Regions from separate parts of the Homo sapiens genome. Here regions 2 and 3 are each linked to region 1. The links are contacts of gene promoters, found by promoter capture Hi-C in human tissues and cell types (Jung and others, 2019). All regions are on one chromosome and are shown on one strand. Each heading gives the region's core, a stretch centred on a gene start or on the middle of the fragment in contact. The rest is flanking DNA. Distances are from core to core; before and after follow the strand shown. Region 1 holds the start of ROR2 (receptor tyrosine kinase like orphan receptor 2). Region 2 overlaps SPTLC1 (serine palmitoyltransferase long chain base subunit 1). Region 3 overlaps ROR2 (receptor tyrosine kinase like orphan receptor 2).

The links. Contacts are between HindIII fragments. The study calls those that stand out against the background at their distance.
Region 2: a contact is called between a fragment that was not itself captured here and the fragment with the promoter of ROR2 in region 1, in 3 of the 25 tissues and cell types used here (IMR-90 fibroblasts, bladder and mesenchymal stem cells).
Region 3: a fragment that was not itself captured here is called in contact with the fragment with the promoter of ROR2 in region 1 in 4 of the 25 tissues and cell types used here (IMR-90 fibroblasts, heart left ventricle, lymphoblastoid cells and 1 more).

The regions. Positions count from the first base shown.
Region 1 is chr9:91,948,908-91,951,601 of GRCh38, forward strand. It overlaps ROR2 (receptor tyrosine kinase like orphan receptor 2), which reads right to left and starts at 1,321. Exons shown (of 9, transcript NM_004560.4): 1 at 960-1,321. The coding sequence starts at 1,056. RefSeq lists enhancers at 112-613, 614-1,113 and silencers at 1,307-1,486, 1,600-1,894. The HindIII fragment of the contact is 10,523 bases long and covers 1-2,694 here.
Region 2 is chr9:92,074,486-92,077,179 of GRCh38, forward strand. All of the region lies in intron 5 of SPTLC1 (serine palmitoyltransferase long chain base subunit 1), which reads right to left. Among named protein-coding and RNA genes, the nearest start is that of SPTLC1, 40 kb to the right of the region's middle. The HindIII fragment of the contact is 3,187 bases long and covers 1-2,694 here.
Region 3 is chr9:91,822,057-91,824,750 of GRCh38, forward strand. All of the region lies in intron 1 of ROR2 (receptor tyrosine kinase like orphan receptor 2), which reads right to left. Among named protein-coding and RNA genes, the nearest start is that of ROR2, 130 kb to the right of the region's middle. The HindIII fragment of the contact is 4,420 bases long and covers 1-2,694 here.

The DNA.
Region 1 (2,694 bases), core at 71-2,570:
AGTCTGCACCGCCAGAGCTAACGCCGCCTCCTCCAGGCAACCTAGGCAGGTCCCAAGCTGCACTTCCGAACCTCCCCGCCGTTCCTCTGCGCCCCGGATCCAAGCAGCCGAAACCGCGCAGGGACTCGGGGGAAGTGGGGCCCCGGGAGGAAACCCACCTAGGAGCCGGGCCCCGCCCCTCCCGCCGCCAGCCTCCTACAGGTCCCGGGGGTCCCCCCGGCGCGGCCAGAAGGCGGCCGCGCCCCAGCCGCTCAGGGACCCGCGATCCCAGTCACAAACCATTTCAATCCAGATCACACACCACTTCGGCCACCCCAGAGCGGTGGGGGAGAGGAGGTTTCAGGGACCAACAAAAGGGATGCCAAAGAGCCCGTTTCCATCAAGCGGCCCGCGGGCTGGGAAAGTCAGGACCCGGGAGCCGCCGGCGCCCCCACCCCCGCCGCAAGAGCCGCTTCTCCGGGGCCACGTCCACCCCAGGATTCTGCCAGGCATCAGGCCGCCCTGGGGGTGGGGGGACGCTCCGAGACAGACGGGGGACACTCGGGGCCGTGTGCCCTTGAAGGAGGAAGACCTCGGGGAGGAAGCCCGGGTCCTGGGACCCTCGGGGCACATCTGCGGACTCGGGTCCCGGGCCCAGGGCGGGTACTCACATTCACACTCGCACTCCCACTCGCGACCCTCGGGAAGCGCCACCGAGAGGCTCCCAGCCGCCGCCGCCCGCCCCCAGACTCTGGAAACACTTAGGCGTCCCCAGAGCGCGGCTTATTGTAACCAGCCCGAGGGGGTCCGGGGTGCGGGCCGGGAGCGGCGTCGGGCGAGATGCGAATGGCCCTGCCTGGCGCCCCTCGTTCAGGAGCATGGGCGCCGGCGCAGCGGCCGGGAGCATAGTGGCGGCGGAAGGGCTGGCCAAGCGAGCCGTGAGCTACCGTCTGCGCACAAGCCGGAACGCCAGATCCTACCTGAAGTCCGGGACACTGAGAGCAGAAGCGCGGCGGCCGCCCAGACGGCCGGGATGCACAGCAGCGGCCGCCGCGGGAGCGCCGAGCCCCGGGCCATGCCGCAGGCAGTGGGGGCCGGGAAGCCCTCAGAGCTTCGGGCCGGGGCGCGGGGTCGGGCGCCACCACCCCTTTCTACGATGCGTCCGCTCCTCCTTCTCCCTGGCGCTTCGCAAACGGGTCCACTTCGAGGACCTCGTCGTCGTCCTCTTCTCCGGCCCGGATGCGCCGCTCGGCTCCGGCCACGGCAAGGGCTGGCTGGGGAGGTTCCTTGGCGCGGGCTGGGGCGTCCCGCCGGCCGCCAGGACGAGCGCGGGGGGCGGACCGCGGGCGAGCGCGCAGGAGGCAGGGTCCCCGCTCGCCCGCCCCGATGGGCAGAGCGAGGCTTGCGCCGGCGCCCCCTGCCGGGGGAACGCGCGGGCGGCGGGCGGGACCCAAGGAGCTGGGGCTGCAGCTGGGGCCCCGGACCTGCCTCCTGCGCCCGCCCTCGGGCCTGCGCCTCGGAACGCTTGAACACAAAGGTGGCGCCTTGGGGGCGTCAGCCGGAGTTCGGCGGGTCTGCCCACGCAGGAGAGGCGCCCAGAGCGGGTGCCCCCGACTTTCGGGGGCGACACACCCGGGGATCTAGGTCACAAATCAGTAACTCCAGGCTGCACTGCGCACCGGGACAAATCTGAGAGCCACCCAGCCCCAGACACCAGCGGTGAGGCAGGAAGAGGAGAAGCGAAAGTTGCAAAAGGAAATGTTCAGGAAAACAAACAGGCCGCCTTGGCACCGGCGCCCTCCCAGGTCGGTGGGGACAAGCGCGTCCCCCGAAATGCTCAAAACTGCCAGGGGTCGAGCTGCGTGGAGGGAGCCCTCGGGAGCGCGATGCTATCCGAAGCCACCGCGGCTTTTGGTTTACTGTTAAAAGCAAATTGTATAATTTTACCCATTAAAGGCAGAACACTATTTGTTCTCTGCAGAGGCCCAGAATGTGCAGAATTTGCTTCACTTATTAGAGACATTTTGAACGGAATTCAAATAGCATGTTTTCTTGCTTATTCTTGGTTTTGCTCAGCACATGCAAATGTCTTTGTTTTTCCTCTTAGAGGAAGGAATTGGATTCTCCAGCATCTCAGTTGCTTGTTCCATGAGATTGATCTTTTAACTGATTATCCAGCAGTTTGTTTGGTGTTTTTGCTGGAGTACCAAGCTCTGTTAATTGGAGGGCATTAGGGAGAGCCCTGGCCTTGGGTGCCAGACGTGAGGCCTCAGACGTGGCCAGAAATAAAAACTCTCTTGCTATGGTCTGCGGACAAAATGACTAAGCCAGCTCTAGCTTGTTACCTCTGTTAAAAGTATTTAGGCGTCCGGCTATCTCTACCCAATTTGTGTAGGGAAATATCTCACGCAGTTCTCATTCCCAGGAGCTGCTGTAAATCCAGTAGGAGAATGGGAGAAGATCCTAGCCCCTCCTCAACTGGATGGCAAAATTATTACCAAACTTCTTAGACGGGCTCAGGCTGTTCCTCTGCCCAGGCTGGTGCGGGTCTGAACGGGGGGGCTGCTCTCCCCAGTGGTTAGAGGACTGCCAGGGGTTTATCTTTGGGGTTTTCCTCCCTTTAGCTTCCCTTAGAATCCTTAAGGATGCTTTTAGAGTAATGTTTTAAGAGTAGGTGCTGAAGCACTTAGTTCCACACCCCTCTCTTCTGGATCT
Region 2 (2,694 bases), core at 64-2,563, 130 kb after region 1:
TCATCTCCCCACCTTAACCCTAAAGTATGGGATACCTCCACTCCTTCGCCTGCAACTGATCATTCACCCCTTATCATCCCATTGAAACATGGCCACCCTTATCCTGCTCAATGCCAATACCCCATCCCACAACAGACTTTAAGGGGCCTAAAGCCTGTTATTACCTGTCTACTACAGCATGGCCTCTTAGTCCCTACCAACTCCCCTTACAACTCTCCCATCCTACCTATTCAAAAACCAGATAAATCCTACAGGCTAGTCCAAGACCTTCGTTTCATCAATCAGATTGTCCTCCCCATTCATCCTGTCATGCCTAACCCTTATACTCTCCTATCCTCAATACCGCCTTCCACAACTCATTATTCTGTTATTGACCTCAAAGATGCCTTCTTTACCATCCCCTTACATCCCTCTTCCCAGCCCCTTTTTGCCTTTACTTGGACTGACCCTGACACCCACCAGTCCCAACAACTCACCTGGACCGTCCTGCCCTAAGGTTTCAGAGACAGCCCACACTACTTTAGCCAGGCCCTCTCCCGTGACCTGCTTTCTTTTCGTCCATTTGTTTCCCATCTCATTCAATATGTGGATGACCTTCTTCTTTGCAGCCCCTCTTACCAATCCTCCCAGCAAGACACTATCCTGCTTCTTCAACACCTCTACTCCAAGGGGTACAGAGTATCCCCCTCCAAAGCTCAAATTTCTACTTATCTTGGTATAATCCTCCACCAACATAGGTGTGCACTTCCAGCAGACCGTATTCAGCTAATCTCCAAATTCCAATCCCCACCACCAAACAACTACTCCTCTCCTTCTTAGACGTTGTTGGATACTTCTGCCTTTGGATACCAGGTTTTGCCATCCTAACCAAACCACTCTATAAACTCACAAAAGGAAACTTAGCTGAACCCACAGATCCTAAATCCTTCCCTCGCCCCTCCTTTTACTCTAAAAAAGGCCCTAGAGGCAACCCCTACTCAAGCGCTTCCCGACTCCTCCCAACCCTCCTTCCTCTCCACACAGCAAAAACGCAGGGCTGCGCTGTAGGAATTCTTACTCAGGAACCAGGCCTGTGACCAGTAGCCTTTGTATTCAAACAGCTTAATCTTACAGTCCTGGGCTGGCCGTCATGCCTGCATGCCACAGCAGCCACAGCCCTTATACTCTTAGAGTCTCTCAAAATCACAGGCTATGCCCCACTCACCTTTTATAGCACTCACAACCTCCAAGACTTAGTTTCCTCTTCACATATAAAACATACTCTCGGCTCCCCACCTCCTCCAGCTCTATTCACTCTTTATTGAAAATCTCATGGGGACCATTGCCTTTGGACAGGACTTCAACCCGGCCTCTCACTTACTACCCACTACAAATCCTAATCCACACAACTGTATTTCCTTAATCCACATAGCCTCCTCTCCTTTTCCCCATATTTCCCTTTTTCCTGTCCCTGACCCAGACCACACTTGGTTTATTGATGGCAGTTCTTCAAAAACCAGTTGATTAACACCAGGAAAAGCTGGATAGGCCATTGTGTCTCACTCATCTATCACTGAAACTGCTGCACTCTCCCCATTTACAACCTCTCAACAAGCTGAATTAATAGCACTAACTCATGCCCTAACTCTTGGCAAAGGACTGCATGTTAATATCTAATTGACTCTAAATACGCCCTTCACATCCTCCACCGCCACCCTGTCAACTGGGCAGAAAGAGGTTTTCTCACTACACAAGGATCCTCTATTATCAATGCCCCCTTAATAAAGCCCTCCTTAAAGCTGCCCTCCTTCCAGCCAAAGCCAGAGTAATCCACTGCAAAGGACACCAAAAAACCTCTGATCCCATTGCCCAAGGAAACACCTATGCCAATAAAACAGCCAAAGAAACAGCAAACTCCCCAGTATCTGCTCCCAGTGGCCAATATTTCTCCTTCTCATCTATCACTCCTATTACTCTCCTTCTGAAACCTTAAACTACCAGTCACTTCCCACTCAAGGCAACTGGTTTTTAGATCATGGAAAGCTCCTTCTCCCTGCCTCTCAAGCTTACTCTATCCTCTCCTCCTTTGATGACCACTTCCATGTAGGATATAAATCTTTAACCCACCTTTTAGAACCTCTCATTTCTTTTCCAGCCTGGAAATCCATCCTCAAAACAATCACCTCTCAATGGGCTATAATGCCACTCTACTACCCCATCAAGGCTTTCTTAAACCTCCTCCTTTCCTTATGCATCAAGCACGACAATTTATCCCTGCTCAAGATTGGCAAATTGACTCTACTCTTATGCCCCGTGTCTGGAAACTCAAATACCTCCTGGTTTGGGTCGACACCTTCATCAGATGGGTTGAGGCTTTTCCCACGGGGTCTGAAGGCTGAAAAGGCCACTGCAGTTATTTCCTTCTTCTAACAGACATAATTCCCCGGTTTGGTCTCCCTACTTCCATACAGTCTGATAATGGGCTGGTCTTCATCAGCCAAATCACTCAAGCAGTTTCCCAAGCCCTCGGTATTCAATGGAATCTTCATGCCCCATATCACCCTCAGTTCTCTGGAAAAGTAGAAAAAGCCAAGGACCTTTTAAAAACACACCTTACTAAACTTACCCTCCAGCTTAAAAAAGACTGGACCACTCTCCTACCCCTTGCACTCCTCCGAATTCGAGCCACACCCTGGGAACCCACCGGGTACAGTC
Region 3 (2,694 bases), core at 66-2,565, 130 kb before region 1:
ACAAATTGTAAACACGGCAGTTGACCCAAATCGGGATGAGAGAAATCCATGAAGTGATGGAAATGTAAAGAGGCCAACATTTGAATATGAAATTTGAACTGGAACCAGCTATACAAAGTCAAGATTTTTAAAACATGTTTTCTCCTGGAGCTGGTTACTGAAGGGCCTGGAGGCAGTGGCCACTCAGGGTCCCTGAGCACACCAGCATCCATGCATTGGTGTTTACACACCACCACCAAGGATCAGAGTTCCTTGGAAAAACAGTTCATCTTCACTCTGGACGATGTGGATGTATAATACAAGGTGAGCTGGGGTACCTCACTGTGCCAGATTGGAAGAAAGACTCAAAAACTAAAAGAACAAAGGCACCTGCTTCCAGGGCTCCCATAGACTGAATTTGAGCATCAGGAAGAACAAAAATGATTCTGTAATACACTGAGTTTTTAAAAATATCATCAGCCATCAATGATTCTCAAAAGCAGAGGAGGCTTTTCTTTTCAGTAGAAATGGCAAAATTAGAAAATTGTCATTTTGCAACCTGCCATAAAATTCCTGATTCAGGCAAGACTCACTGGATGCGAAAACCACTGAGCAGAAGGCTGTTTGGGGAACAAGATAGATACAGAATGTCCAAGTATCGTCCTACAGATTTCATACTCAGGACAGGCAGAAATACAACATGGCTTTTCAGAGGAGTGGGAGAAGGGGGCAGCCACCACTTTCACCAGGTGGTCGGATTTAGCATCTCTGACACAGTGGGACCACTGACCCCTACGTGTGATGCAGCCAGACGTGCACAGCTTCTCCAATAAGTCTTCTGGCCACAGACGCAGAGACATCCAGTCTGACAGCAAACACAAGGGCAGAGAAAGACAGTAAGGGAGACAGTAAGAAACATCACCGGAGGGAACAGTCACACTAATTCAAAGGTGCGACATTCTGGAAGATAACTAGCTTTTCCTCTTCTAACAGTTAATGTCACAAAGGTAAGAACAAAAAGGAAGGGCTATTTTAGATTAAAGAGTCTAAGCAGTTATAACAAGCAGATCCAGGTTTGCAGAGAGAGAAGCTATTAAACACATTCTGAAGAGAACTGGAGAAAGGTGAATATCAAGTAACCATTAGACGATATCATGGGACTGCTGTTAATTTTGTTCCATGTAAGAATGGTGCTGCCATTATGGAGAATGACAGTTTTTCTTAGAGGAGATGGATGCTCACATATTTGGGGCAGGGGCATGTCATGATGTCAACAACTTATTTTCAAACTGTTCAGCAACACTTTTTTTTTTTTTCAAGACGGAATCTTGCTCTCTCGCCCAGGCTGGAGTGACATGATCTCGGCCCACTGCAACCTCCACCTCCTAGGTTCAAGCAATTCTCCTGCCTCAGCCTCCCAAGTAGCTGGGATTGCCGGCGCATGCCACCACGCCAGCTGATTTTTTTTTTTCAAACTCCTGACCTCATGATCCACCTGCCTCAGCCTCCCCAAGTGCTGGGATTACAGGCATGAGCCACCGTGCCCAGCCTCAGCAACAAATTTTTATAAAATATGGATTTAAGGAGCAGAGAGGAAGTGGGGGCAAGAAACAGCATACTATCAACAACCGCTGAATCTGGGTGGAGAGTTTATGTGTGTGTTTGCAGTATTATCTTTCAACTTTTGTGCATATTTGAAAACTCTCATAATGAAAAGACGGGAAGGAATAAGGAGGCCCACATTCCCAAGGTGACAATGAATAAACAGGATTACATTTAGTTAGGCTGGGGCGTCAGGGAAGGTGCCCCCAGAGCTCCAAATGCCCAAGGCATCTCAATCTCCTAAATTTCTCTGAAATACACAATCTCTGCCGGATTCACCAGCGGTTCCTCTAAGATCCTTGCAGTTTGTTGCTGTTCTTCCATGCCTGTGCTCAGAGTCAGCCTGCTTCTACCTCCACTAGCAGAGCTCAGAGAAAACAGGCTTTTCACAATGAGCTGGTGCTTCACAGCAGTGTGTCTAAGTCGATGGGCAGAGAAAATAAGAATTTCATGTGCCGACGATAGAATCTGCCAGACTTTCTCTACTTCACAGTTCCCAGGTAATCATCACGACCAGGCCACCTTCCCAGAGAGACACCATTACCGGCATCTTACAGATAAAGGATGGGCCTCAGGCAGGTAAACAAATGCTCAGAGCCACAAGGAAATGATGAAGCTGGGCATTACATCCAAGCCCCTTGGATTACATGCCTGTGGGGTTCCCCCAGCCAAACTCACTGTGCTTCCTGCTAGAGGGGCCTCTCCACTCAGGGTGTGGCCTTTTGGGACTGCAGCATCAGCATCCCCTGGCACTTCATGTTCCCAGTGAAGTGGGCACTAAACCTCACTAACAGGTAGGAATGTGCACACGCCGGGGGCAGGGCATCCCCTCTGCAGGACACAGTGCATTCAACAGGTCTACTTCATAGTGGCAAACACAGGAAGAAAAGCGAAAGGGAGAAAAATTTCAAAAGCACTCACCAAAAATGTAGTAGGAAACAGAGGACGATGAAATGCAACCAAATCCCAATGTTTCAACGCACACCAAAAATGTTCCCAGCAGGCACATCTGGGAGTGCCCGGGAACTCCCCCACCCGAGGCAGCTGTCCTCTGGCCCTGGTATGCAACACCCCCATTTCCTTGATGAGAAACAGGGCATCGGGGTGGGACAC